Regions from separate parts of the Homo sapiens genome. Here regions 1 and 2 are each linked to region 3. Evidence: promoter capture Hi-C in human tissues and cell types (Jung and others, 2019). All regions are on one chromosome and are shown on one strand. The core of a region is centred on a gene start or on the middle of the fragment in contact, and the rest is flanking DNA. Distances in the headings are between cores, read along the strand shown.

What was found. Contacts are between HindIII fragments. The study calls those that stand out against the background at their distance.
Region 1: a fragment that was not itself captured here is called in contact with the fragment with the promoter of DLGAP1 in region 3 in 3 of the 25 tissues and cell types used here (dorsolateral prefrontal cortex, lymphoblastoid cells and spleen).
Region 2: a fragment that was not itself captured here is called in contact with the fragment with the promoter of DLGAP1 in region 3 in 2 of the 25 tissues and cell types used here (dorsolateral prefrontal cortex and spleen).

The regions. Positions count from the first base shown.
Region 1 is chr18:4,334,381-4,339,157 of GRCh38, reverse strand. The region is part of intron 1 of DLGAP1 (DLG associated protein 1); the gene reads left to right. Among named protein-coding and RNA genes, the nearest start is that of DLGAP1-AS5, 72 kb to the right of the region's middle. The HindIII fragment of the contact is 7,157 bases long and covers 1-4,777 here.
Region 2 is chr18:4,545,010-4,549,306 of GRCh38, reverse strand. No RefSeq gene overlaps it. Among named protein-coding and RNA genes, the nearest start is that of DLGAP1, 92 kb to the right of the region's middle. The HindIII fragment of the contact is 4,768 bases long and covers 399-4,297 here.
Region 3 is chr18:4,452,814-4,457,421 of GRCh38, reverse strand. It overlaps DLGAP1 (DLG associated protein 1), which reads left to right and starts at 2,115. Exons shown (of 13, transcript NM_004746.4): 1 at 2,115-2,416. RefSeq lists a silencer at 1,966-2,095. The HindIII fragment of the contact is 8,504 bases long and covers 721-4,608 here.

The sequences.
Region 1 (4,777 bases), core at 903-3,402, 120 kb after region 3:
AACTCAGTAGACTGAAAGAGTCAATAATTCATGGGAATGGAGTCAAAACCCAGTTTCATGTGAGTCTAAAGTCAGGACCCTTTAGTTCTTAACTAACCTTCCGCGTACATATTCTAAATGAAATCATTGATCTGCGGTGTGTTAAATGACTATTTTGTCCCCATCAGTTGGACACAGTCTCAGAGCTATATAAATTGGAAAGCACTTGTATAATAAGTTATTTTCAAGGAAATTTTTAATATATGAGCAAATAACGTATTTTTGAAGGTCCGCTATAATAATAGGCCATTTACATTGAATAAATGACTCTGTTAATGTCCTGATCAGTGCCTTGGTGACCTATGAAATTATTCATAGATGATCACATAGGGGAAATAGTTTATTTGCATAATGGAATCTGCAATTATACTTCTCAATCTATGTATAAAGAAACAAGCAGCTCCTTGCTGTAAATTTATTTAATGTCTTATTCATTCACCGTCTGTCGTATTTATCATCTTGCCATACAAAGAATGTACACTCCTCTATTTACCTTTTCATCGTGAACTCCTAGAGAGAACTGTCTATAATCTATTCATCTTGGTATACTTTCTCTGAGCCACAGTTCCTGATAAATAATAGGCACTCAGTACACATTTAGGAAATGAATGCCTGAAGGATCAATATAATCAGGTACATGCCCAGGGTCATTTAACAAACCTGTGTTACAAGGATAATAAAAGGCCTTTGAAAATTTCCCAACTATTGACACTTGGTATGATTGATTTATTTACTCCAGAAGTATTATTGGACATGTACTATGTACTCAGCACCTTTCTGGATTTTGGAAATATCTCAATAAACAAAACTGACAACAATTTTCTACTTTTAGGGATTTTACATTCCAGCTGATAAAACTGTGTCTGGCCAAACTTTTAAATCCTTTAACAGTAAAAATGTAATTTCTTTCCAAGAAATTATTTGTGATCATGATTTGAAAATGGATTGCCTTGACAGTGGAAAATAGATGTACAGTTTCACAAAATACTCAAAGATCTACAAACTGAGACTGATTGGAATTTTTTAATGGATGCTAAAATTAGTGGTAAGATTAGTTTCTACTCAACATCCATTATTATCTTAAATACAGCAGAGAGATAAAAACTATGATTCACTCTGTTTTAAAATATGTGGTGTTTCAAATGCCACTGATAATTTTTTAAAAGCGAAACAGAAGTGAAGGGAAATGTTGAGACAATATGGAAAAAAAATGACCCCTGACAAAGACTTCTGTGAAAAGAACATTGTAAAATACAGCACTGAAATAGCTGAAATTTCATTTCAGCTATGAAAGTATGAAATAAAAAAACTAAAATGGCTCCAGTATAAAAGTAGCGGTTTGATTCAAATATTCCAATACTGCCAGTAATGTTCTCAGTGATGTTTATGAGAAAACTATGACTTTATATATGTATCTATGTATTTTTTTGGTTTCGGCTGGTCAATTATTTTTCTTATTTGTTGGAATTGACAATTGGCTCCCGACACACAACTCTTGAGGAGATTTGTGTGATTTTTATAGAATACTAGAGCTAAAATATTTCTCTCTAAAATGTCATACATTTGTAAATTCTTCTTACAATCTTTTTAAGGATATGAACTATAATTGTTTTAAAAAGCCATCTCTTTGCCGGGCACAGTGGCTCACACCTGTAATCCCAGCACTTTGAAAGGCTGAGGCAGGTGAATCATTTAAAGATCAGTTCCAGACCAGCCTAAGCAGCATGGCGACCCCGTCGCTACAAAAAGTAGGAAAAATTAGCCGGGCGTGGTGGCATGCACCTGTAGTCCCAGCTACTCTGGAAGTTGAGGTGGGGGGATCACCTGAACCTGGGAGGCAGAGGTTACAGTGAACCAAGATTGCGCCACTGCACTCCAACTTGGGTGACAAAGTGAGACCCCATCTCAAAAAAAAAAAAAAAAAAGCCAACTATTGGCCTATCAATGTATCAACTGACCTACTACTACTTTTGCTCTTTTTTTTTTTTTCTTTTTTCTTTTTTTTAAGATGGAGTCTCACTCTGTCGCCCAGGCTGGAGTGCAGTGGCACAATCTCGGCTCACTGCTAGCTCCACCTCCTGGGTTCATGCCATTCTCCTACCTCAGCCTCCGGAGTAGCTGGAACTACAGGCGCCAGCCACCACGCCCGGCTAATTTTTTTTTTTTTTTTTTTTGTATTTTCAGTAGAGACGGGGTTTCACTGTGTTAGCCAGGATGGTCTCGATCTCCTGACCTCGTGATCCGCCTGCCTCTAGATACCGTAATGCTAACATAAACTAGATTAGATCTTATCCTCAAGGAGTTTACACTCTAATAGGAGAGAGACTCAATTCTATAAGCCCCTACAACAAACTAGAAAAGTTTTATTCATTGAAGCTCCTTTGTTCGATACATGTCCATATCAACTGTTAATAGTAAAATGCCATCTATTAATTAAAGTAGAGTGGATGTTAGGCTTTGAATTAGCCACTGACCCAGCCCCTTACATGAGATAAGATTAGATGCCACAGGACCATTTTGATAGAAGGAACAGAAGCTTTGGTGAAGGGTATTTACTGGGAGGACACACTAGTATATTATGTAGGTATGTCACAGGAGCTCATCCTGGCCTAGAAGTAGCCGTTACTCTCCTTAGCTGCCAGCATCTTTGGGCCTCATTGCCTCTCTTTCATTCTTTCTTCAAATTCACTCGTCTATATTTTTCTACCTTCAGACCAGCTTCTTCCACAGTTGTATGTGGTCAGCACAGTGGTCCTCAAAGTGTTGTTTCTACAGACTTTCCAGATCAGCTGTCTAGAGCTAACAGAGTCCACCTCTATGGACCACATTAGATTTCTGGGAATAATATGATTGGTCAACCTGGAATTATTCACTTATAGCCCAATAAGCAGAATTGGAGTTGGAAGAATGGAGTTGTATGGTGCATACGTATCTTTTTCTGTGCCAATGGGCAGCAAAAGTACCTATGAATGGTGTGTGGGTCAGGAGGGCATTGTCGGCACGTGCACTGTAATAGACGTACTGCAGTATGCTAATAGTGATAACAGGCAGATTGGCATTGATAGTGCATTTTGCTGCTTCTTGTGTGATAAACTGAAGCTTGTATTTTGATATATCAATTTGTGCCCCAAATGGCAATGGAAATCAACCAATAGTCTTGTGTTTCTAAATCATAAAAATGTCACAAATAATTCATGGCATGTATTTCATATGCACACTTTAAATACCTGAATATGATAAATTGCTGATAGAATTTTCAATTTCAAAAGCCCAGTAGAGTGCACACTTTTTTTTCTAACGCAGTCTTTCAATTCTGTGACATTGCTGATTGCTCCTTTAAAACACATTTTGCACCAAACATTTTAGAATATTTGATTCCTGAGGACTTAAAACAGGACATATGTAATTTTATTTTTCTTTTTTTACATTCTCAGGTTTAGTGCATAAGCTTGGATGTGAAGCCCTGGAGTTAGCCACTTTGCTTTGAAAGAGGACCTTGTTTCCTCCAGACAGTACTGTCTTATGTTTCCTTCCTTTTCCAGAGCCAGGTGAAACCACAGGACTTCCCATTGCAGTTAAAGTAATCTGCATTTTCAATGACCGGTCAACCTAAAAATTCAAGTCCTGATAAAACAAACTTAAGCAGTATGATGAGGCTTCTTGGCTTTGTGAACTATTAAATTATGTATTCACCAATTTTTATTACTGATACTGTGCAAGGCACTGAGTTAATTCCAGAGGACCTAGGAATGATCCTTGTCTTTTCTCTCGTGTAGTGGATCATGCTGTGGAAGGTGGGAGGGAGGTAAAAAACAGCTTTATGATTGGCTACACTTTTATCATTTAGTCCACTGTTTCTGCTCATTCTTCGGGATGGCTTTGATGCCAACCACATAAATGTCTTTATTTCTATTCTGGACATTCTCACCCATAAGAAATATGCTCCTATTGGGATAATTGTTTATTGCTCAGTCAACTGTTTTTTAATTGGATGAATTAACTGCTCGCTGCCTTATTGTGTCTTTCTGCAGCCATTTGGCCTATAATTCTTAAAGAGAGATTCTTGAACCAAGAATTTGTTTTTAATAGTATTATTGTCACAACACAGCTATTGCATGAAATGATGTATACATTCACATTCAGTGTTAACAATTGTTCAAAGCCAAATGTAAATACTACCAAGCTTGTTAGGATTTCTCTTGGCTTTCTTCACTGTACCTTTTATTTTCTCCAAAGACTTGAAGAACCATTAGGGTGCCTTACTAGAGTCATGATTTCCATAATTTAAATAAAGTCAAACTCAAAGGAATATATTGCTTCTATTTAAAATCATTCTTAAAACAGATGCAGGTGGAGGCAGGTTTGAGGTTGAGGAGTGGTATTAGTGTGGTAGCAGCCACTGTTGTTTCAAACCTCTTCCCACCCTGCCCTAAGAAGATCGGAAACCTCTCCTCTCTCTTGCATTTTGTGTTCCTGTACAGTTGATCCCTCAGTAGAATGCAAAAGTTCATTTGCATGACATGTAGTTGCTGAAGACACATGACCCATCCCTAAACTCAGACTAGGACATTTTTACAAATACTTTTGCAAATTGAAGTCAGGAATCTTCCAGCCATCATTAGGGCTGTAGGATTTCAGTTTGCTATGGCAATACAGAGATAACTTCTGCAGTACCAGGAAGGAAATTCATGCTAATTTACAGATTTCATGTTGCCCAATCAAGAAGTTGAGTTATCCC
Region 2 (4,297 bases), core at 1,533-4,032, 91 kb before region 3:
ATATAAATATGAATGATAATTTGGGAGATCAAATTAATTTAACCACTGTATGATTTTCCACTGTATCAATATACACCAACATAAAAATGCTCTTGTTGATAGATATTTGGAATACTTAAATTTTCACTATTATAAAAGTTCTACAAAATCATTATTGCAGATGTCTGCCTGTATAGGTGTGTGAGTTTCCCTAAAGGATATATATGTAAATATCTTTGATATGGTAGAGAGGTATGTATATTCTATTGACATAGATAAATATTCAATGGCATCTTCTAATTTATTAAGAATATAAAACATTTTCTGTGATATGAGCTGCAACTACTTTTCTCCAATTTTCATTTGTCTTTTGACTTTGTGATGTTATTTGATTTGTAGGATTTAAAATTTTATCCAATTAACTTTGTCTGTCTTTTCCTTTATTATTTCTGGGTTTTGAGTTAAAATTACAGAAGCATTTCTTGCTCTAAGATAATTACAAGGAATGAAAGTCCCCATGTTTTCTTTTTCTGCATTTTGTTTTCAATCTTCTGACTAATTTTGTTTTAGATGACTCACATTTAAGCATCGTAGAACGGAATTTAAGATACAATTTGTCGGCTGGGCGCGGTGGCTGATGCCTGTAATCCCAGCACTTTGGGAGGCCGAGACGGGTGGATCATGAGGTCAGGAGTTTGAGACCCTCCTGGCCAACATGGTGAAACCCCATCTCTACTAAAAATAAAAAAAAAAAAAAAAAAAAATCAGCTGGGCGTGGTGGCGCATACCTGTAATCTCAGCTACTCGGGAGACTGAGGCAGGAAGATCACTTGAACCAGGGAGTGAGAGGTTGCAGTGAGCCAAGATGGCTCCACTGCACTCCAGCCTGGCGACAGAGCAAGACTCTGTCTCAAAAAAAAAAAAAAAAAAAAAAGGATACAATTTTTCTTTCAATATCTATGCATAATTTTTATACTTAATGTGATTTCTGAATATTTGGACTCGTGTCAATTATCACTTTTTTCTATTTGCCATCTTCTATTGTACTTTGAATTTCTCATTTTTTTTCCTTCTTGGCATCTATTATACGTTGAACTTTCTCAAAAAAATACTCTTTCATTACACTTTTTTGATTAAATATTATAAATAGTATTGAACACTTCTGCCCTTATGTTTTTGTCTTTTAAAAATCTAAACTTGTTCACTGTTATCTCCCGTACCAGCTTGAAAAGATGCTTATAATGCTTTAACACTCCTCTCCCATCGTCTCATTCCTCTATAAGCTTTAAATCCTTATTTTTAAATATAAGTTTTTGCATAAGGTCAATAGTTAATGAAATGTGCTAGCACTTAATCAATTTTGGAATGTTCATTTATTTGTTGAATCCCACAGCTTCCTTCTTTGTTCAGTTTTCTTCATGCTGAAATATATGCACTTAATAGTTCTTTTAATGAGACTCTGTGTGGGTGGTAAATTCTTCTGGTAATTGTAAGCATAAACATTATTTTTTTCTTCCCTCACAGATAATAGTTTATCTGTGTATATGGCTTACAGTTACTTTCCTTTGGCATTTTAAATATATTATTCCATTGTCTTCTAGCATCTGTTGTTGCCAATGTCTCTTGTTAGTTTAATTGGTCATTCCGTGGTTGGTGATGCATTGGTTCTCTTTAGTGCTTTTTAAGATTTTTCTTTTTATCCTAATGTTCTACAACTTCATGACGATATGCATATGCATTCATTAGTTTTAATTTATTCTGCTAAGTACCTGGAGTATACTTTTGATGTGGAAAATTTTCAGCAATTACTTCTTCAAGTTTTATTGCTCGGACATTTGCTACATTCTGCTTTTATCAAACTCTTATTCCATGAGGGTTGGAGCCTCACTATGTATTTATACTGTTTTTCAGGTGATTTTTTTAAAACTTTTGTTTCTTTTGGTTTACCATAGTCTTTCTGTGGCACATGCTGGTCAGCTTTCTCAATACTGTTTTCTAATCGACCAACCCGTTCTTAGACTCTGTTCAGTATAGAGTTTACATAGCACACTGCCGTTTTTTGGCTACTTTCGGGAAAACCCAGGGCTTTTGCCTCATTCGTTTTTTGGATATTTCCATTCCAATCATATTCAGAAGATATTTATCTTTTTGAGTCTAAAAATAATCCTTTTGGCTTAAACATTGACTATACTTGTGGTTATTGCTTTGTGTTTGAAGCAGAGGGGATGATTAGAGAATGAACTAAGCACATCAGTTTTTCAGTACATCTCATAATTGTTTTTTAAAATCATATGCTATAAAAACTTGGTTAAATATTTAGCATTCTACAGTATAAATGTACATTATCTACATATCCTTGCCTACAAGAGCCAGAACAAGTTATTTGAAATGCCTAGATAAATATTGAATGTAAAGCCACAAACATCTTAAAACATATGGAGATAAAGTTATTAAAATACCTAATCCATTCATTTCAACAGCTGTCATAATGAGTCATTACAGTAAACATCACAGTAAAAATGAGTACTTAATTTTCTATTTTGTTCACGTTCCTTTTTTATAATATTAGAAACATTCAGAAAACAAGATTAAGTTTCTAGAATTTAACAACTACTTCTAAAATTGCTTTAGTGCCTATAGATTGTTGTCTCTCCTCTTTATCACATTTTATTATAGAATAACTTGTTATTTTTTAAGGGGCATCTTTTGGTATATATAAGTTATTACAAATCCATTGGTTTTTCAAAGATTGAAGCTCTATCACTGTAACTTTTTGCTAATGATTGCTGCCTGACAATGTAAAACTGACAACTTTATTTTTTAACAGTGGAGGTTGCTATTTATTTGCACTACATCATATAGTTACTGGCAAGCACAAGACAATTTTTTAAATGACCTATCAAGTCAAGGAAGGGAAGCGATTGAAGTACAAAACTTTGCTTTCTTGATATTTAAATTTCAATAAAATTGTATCATTAACATTACTCTCAGTTTTTGTAGTCAATCTTTCTGAATCAGGAAAGGGAAAAGAAAGAACGTTAACAAATCCTTAAAACTCTTTGCTTCATGGAGTTGAGAGAAATCACTAGTAATCCCCTAACTGGCAATAAGCAATGGTAATCTTACTTTAGAGTTACCACCTTGATGAGTAATATGTGGCCCTTAGAACAGGTTAGTAGTTCAGTAAAAATCATGTTGTCAGCCATAAAATGGTCATTTGTTCATTCATTTATTCATTTACATATATCTATTGGGTGGTGATTACATACCTAGCACTGTGCTAAGTACTAGGAACTACAAGGGTGAACAGAACAGACTCCAAATTTCTTCCCTCACAGAGGTTACAGGCCAGTAGGAGAAACATATTAGATAAATCATCTCATAAATGATTATGCAGTTAGTATTGATATGAGCAATGATGGAATAAATATAGGGAGTAACTAAGGGAGGCTGTCACATCCTTGAGGACTTGAACTAGATAAGATGAAATGAGATGAGTAATAGCCAGGGAAAGGAGTAAGAGAGCCAATGGTAGCATTATAAGGAGAAGACTGAAATCAACAAAAGCCATGGGTGACAAGTGCTGGGTGCAATGGATATCAGAGGTGTGGAAAGGGCAGGAGCCTTAGAAAGGAGGCCAAAACGGTGAGCTTGAGGCTAGAGACACACCAGGTTGCATAGATCTCCATGGTTCATTTTAATGATTTTGAACTTATTCAATATACCATGTTACGGAATGGGCTGTCAATCACAGCCCTCCATGCCAGTACAGCAGTTTCCCTTTAATCTAATGGGATATACCCAAGGTCCCCAGTGGATGCCTGAAACCATGAATAGAACCAAATTCTATACAATAAGTCCTCAAGAGTTACAATAAAGTCATTGATATGTTTTTGGAAACTGCAACTTTAAGCAAAATGAGGTATTATGAAACCAATTTTATCATGGGCTAATTAATATAAACAAGAGTTAAGTTCCTAGGTCATATTTCTGGTCACAAAAACATCACCAAACTTCTAAATAAAGAGCAAAACACTTCTAATATTAAACATTGAAGTAACTGCCTATACTTACATTTAAGAAAAACTAATAAAAACAAGCTGGGCATGATGGCACATGTCTGTGGTCCCAGCAACTGCAGTGGCTGAGATGGGAGGATTCCTTGAGCCCAGGAAGTCGAAGCTTCAGTAAACTATGATTGTGCTGACAGAGTATGACTCCATGTCTAAGATAATAATAATAACAAAAACTAAGAAAATTACCGAATTTTTGGTGAATCAGTGTGTGACATTGGTCGTGGTGGTGGGTTAAATCAAGG
Region 3 (4,608 bases), core at 866-3,365:
AGTATTCAATAGTACAGCAGAGGAACTATATAGTTTAATTTATTGTATATTTCAAAATAGCTAGAAGAGAAGAATTCTAATGTTCCCAATACGAAGAAAAGATAAATGAGGTGAGGGATATCCCAATTACCCTGATTTGATCATTATGCATTGTATATATATACCAAATTATTGTATCTACCTGCAAAATATGTGCAACTGTGATATATCAATTTAAAAATTAGAAAAGAAAATCTATTAATTAAACATATTTACAAATCTGGAAAGGCAAATTTTCCAAATTATGAAGGCTATTATCACATATCAGTATTTTGCCTTTTCAGGGAATCCGATTTGAAGTGTCCCTATAATAATTCTTTTTTTTTTTTTTTTTTGAGAGTCTCGCTCTGTCACCCCGGCTGGAGTGCAGTGGTGTGATCTCGGCTCACTGCAATCTCCACCTCCCGGGTTCAAGTGATTCTTATGTCTCAGCCTCCAGAGTAGCTGGGATTACAGGCGCCCACCACCAACCCAGCTAACTTTTGAATTTTTAGTAGAGATGGGTTTTCACCATGTTGGCCAGGCTGGTCTTGAACTCCTGACCTCAAGTGATCTGCCCATCTCGGCCTCCCAAAGTGCCAGGATTAGAGGTGTGAGCCACTGAGCTGGGCCCCTATAGTAATTCTTGAATTGTCTGAGAATATCTTTTAGATCATTGCTAAAGCGTCGGTGCTCATGATATTACAATGCTGAGAATTTACCTCCATTTAGTGGTTTCAGTAATTGTTATTTTCTTTAATGGAAAATCACTCAGTGAAATTGCAGGAAAGAGGTTATTTATCTGAGTCATATTTTTATGAAAACTGTTTTTCACTTCCTTGCATTTTTAGAAGTGTTGTCTTTAAAAGGATATTCTATTAATATTTATAATTAGACATCACACAAAACAGATGCTAAATCTTATGCTATAACTTCTGGATAAAATTACATAAAGATTATGTACTTTTTGGCATAATATTCCCTCAGGAAGCTGTAGAACAAAGGACATTCTCCATGAAGATGCCATTTCTTTTTTTAATAGAAGGAAATAATAAGGCAGTGATTAACCACGATTATTTTAACTACTGTAACGTTTGCAATTAAGTGGGCAGCGCAGGAGCTCAATAAATACTTAATTGATTTACTTTTTTCTCTCCTTGACCCACATCGCAATTCACCCACTCACGCCGCTATCCCTATTCTAACTTTGAAACCAAGTGGATTCTCTCTGTTTTCAGTTTGTGGAAGCGTGGTGCTCAGCCTGTGTGGAGGGGCCTGGCTTCCAAGTGTACTTGGGGTGGAACCTGGGGACTTTACCGAGGGCACAGGTCAGGAGATGAGATTCGTTTCGCTTTTTGAATTACCTTTTGGCCTGTACCAAGATGAACTGGTGGGATATATAGTGTCATCGAACCCGGGAGAGTTGTTGTGGAGGTGAGGAAACAGCTCTGAGGGATAACGGTTTGAAAGTAGTGGCGCTGGGGACGAACATGGGTCCCTGCGAGTCTGAGACTCTCTATTGCCCCCATCTCCTTGCTGCCGATTACTTCTTCAAAAATTCTCCTAGGGACCCTGAGGAGGGACGGGAGAGGTCAGCAAACCCTCTGTCCACCAACTTGATTTCCTGTGATACAAAGTGTCATGAGTTCTCCTGCTTTCCTCCCTTAAAAAAGACAAGATTAGGAACAACGGCTGGCAAGAGAGGAGGGGAAAGCTTAATTCTCCACAGATGCTGCGCAAGGGAACCAATGGGTCACGCCCACTCACGGGTGGCCGCCTCTCTGTTCCATCCCGGGGATGTTGGGCTTTCCCCTCGGTCCGGGGCGAGCGCACTTCCCACCCGGAGACTGAGCGGGCAGCACTCGCAGGCCAGGAGCGCGTTCCGGGAGGCGCCGGCGCCTCCCCGCGGCCTGGGCGCACGTGCCTGGGCTGGGGCCGGAGCCCGCGGTCGCGCCGCGCCGTAGTAGCTGGGGCGGGTGGGAGCGGCTGGCTCCGGGCCGCGGCCGCCGCCCGCCCGCCGGCTCCGGTGGTTGGGCGGAGGAAGCGCGGGACTCCTCCTCCCCACCGTATTAACATGCACCCAGGGGCGGGTCACCAGCCCAGCCTTGCAGCCCCAGCCCGCCGCGTCCCGGCGCTCAGCCTCCGCTCCAGAGGCGAGCGCTGCGCTTCGGGCGCCGCAATCTCCAGGACACGGCCTCGCGGACACCTTCCGCCTCGGGGAATCGGCAGCATAGGCGGCGCGAACGGCCGCCGCCGCCTCGGCTCCTCTCTCGAGTCCTTCCCGTCACCTCGCTGAGAGCCGGTCCTGGTCGCGGGGACATCTCTCTCCTTCCTCCGAGGCTCGTGGGACCAACGGACGGACGCAGCCAGCGAGGGCCGGACTGCGGGACGCGGCCAGGTAACGCCGGGCTGCGCCGCGGGGCTGGGGCGTGCGCGGCGGCGGCGGTCGCGGCGCGCTGGGTGGCTCCTGGCTGCTGCCTGCCGCGCGGTCGCCGCTTCCCTCGCCCGCGGAGGGGCTGCGGGCTGGGCTCCCCCGGCCGCTGGCTCGAGAGTCCGCGCTCCTTACCCTTTCAGCCGCCCGGGGTGCACTCCCGGGCCCTCCGGGTAACCTGGGATCTCGGGGGCGAGCGCGTCCTCTCCGGCCATGCGGTCCTCGCGGCTCCCCACGGGGACCCAGGCAGGGGAAGGATTTCTAATTGCGACAGGGTCCCGGAAGGGGGAGGGGAGGAGAACACCGGTCCCCTGTCCCGGTCATGTCCACCGGTCAAATTCGCACCCCCACCCCACCCCCGATGCACCTTGCAGGGGAGGAGGGGGCTGCTCCCCGCAGGGCTTTCTCGGCAGGCTCCTGGGTCGTTTGCAAAGCAAGTTGTTGCACTAGCTTTTTGGGTGACATTTTGGCATTGTGGAAAAGGACCAACTCCCCCGTGCGTTTGTAAGAGAAAGCCAAAGAAACAGAGACACAAAGACAGGCACAGAGAGAGAGAGAGAGAGAGAAATGGGGTCCAAGGAGGAGGTCACTGGAGAGTCGCCCCCTGCCCGCGGCCAAGGCCAATTCCCGGAGAATCGCGGGGCGGGCCGGGAGACCCGACATTCAGCGAATTGAATGAGCCGGGCTGGAACCAAGGCCAAACAGGGACCTCTCCTCTGGGCTGGGCGAGATAACACATTGCACTTTCATTGAGGGGCGGCTGCAGCTGGGAGAGGCACCTTCGGAGGGCCCGCGGCGATGAAGACCCTGCTTTCAGGACTTCGGCTGCTGCGCTTTTTGCGGAAGGCGCGCTGTCCCGGCCTCGCTGGGTGGCACCGGGAGGCCGTGGGAAGGGGTGGCCCGTGGCTCGGCTGCCGGCGCCGGAGACACTGAGTGCCTGTGTCCGAGTGCCGCGCTCGCCCCCGGCTGCAGGGCTTGCCTCCAGCCCGACCGTAGCGCTGCGGAATTTTCTGCTAGAGAAGGGGAGGATGTGCGGAGGGCAAGGGGTTAAAGGTAGCCAGGCGGCAAGCAGTGGGACGCTGGGTGGGAGATGTCACGTCTTTTGTGGATCCAGGCGAGACTCTTCACTCCTTACTCCTGACACAGAGACTGACTCCCGGTCGTGGGAGGTGAATGCTCCCTGCCTCCTTCCATAACACGTGAAGTTAGGGAATTACGAGGAAAGACATATAATAAAAGTACCAATTAAAGACAGATCTTTTAGCTTTTGTGGTCTTCGTGAATGGCTTCGTAGAAGGTGAGGATAGATCAGTCTAAGATGTGGTTAGACATGGAGATGAGAAATGCTGAGAACTAGGAAAGCGATTTTAGGTCCTAAGGCAAACATCCTGCAAATTATTTTTTACCCTGAAAGAGCTGTTCTAAAAAGAACAGCCCTTTGACTGTTATTTATAGCACGATTTCAGTTCAGGAAACGACTTTCTATTGGCCTAGGTCATTTTGCATATAAAGCAATACTTTTTATTCCTTGAATAAAACTTGAACGGAAATGACATGGAGGCAAGAAATTTTACAAGATCCTAATTTATTTCATGCCAGAAGAATATAAAGTTTTCTTTAAGTTTTTAAAAGGAAATTCAAGCCTATAAAGAAATAATGAATATGTCTATGCAAAATGTATGATTTTAAAAAGTTTAAGTTATAAACGCTACCCTTGGTTCAGAAAATTCATACTCTGGCATGAAACAAGAAAGTTCATAGAAGTCAGGTGTCAGTAGCCCTGTTCTTAATTTCCTTTAGATTTAGTACTTAAATGTAAAGTTGTTTCAGTTGGTTAGTGCCTTGCAATACCCCTAGTCGCAGATATAAAATTCTGTGAATTTTTAAAAAACTAATTTACTTAAGAGAAAATGTTAGTTACCTTGTGTGAGTAAAGAAGAATGTACTTGCATACATAGATTTTTTTAAATTTATAGCTATCTATTTCTCTATATTTCATTCTAAGATTAGTCTGCAAATACAATACTTTATCTCAAACATTACAGGCAATATAAATATGGGCAAAAGGAACTGGTTAACATTCTTTTAAATATGTCAAAATAATTTTCTGACAAGGCTTCTTAAATCTCACACAAGCAATTGTGCTTTGGGGAAATAAT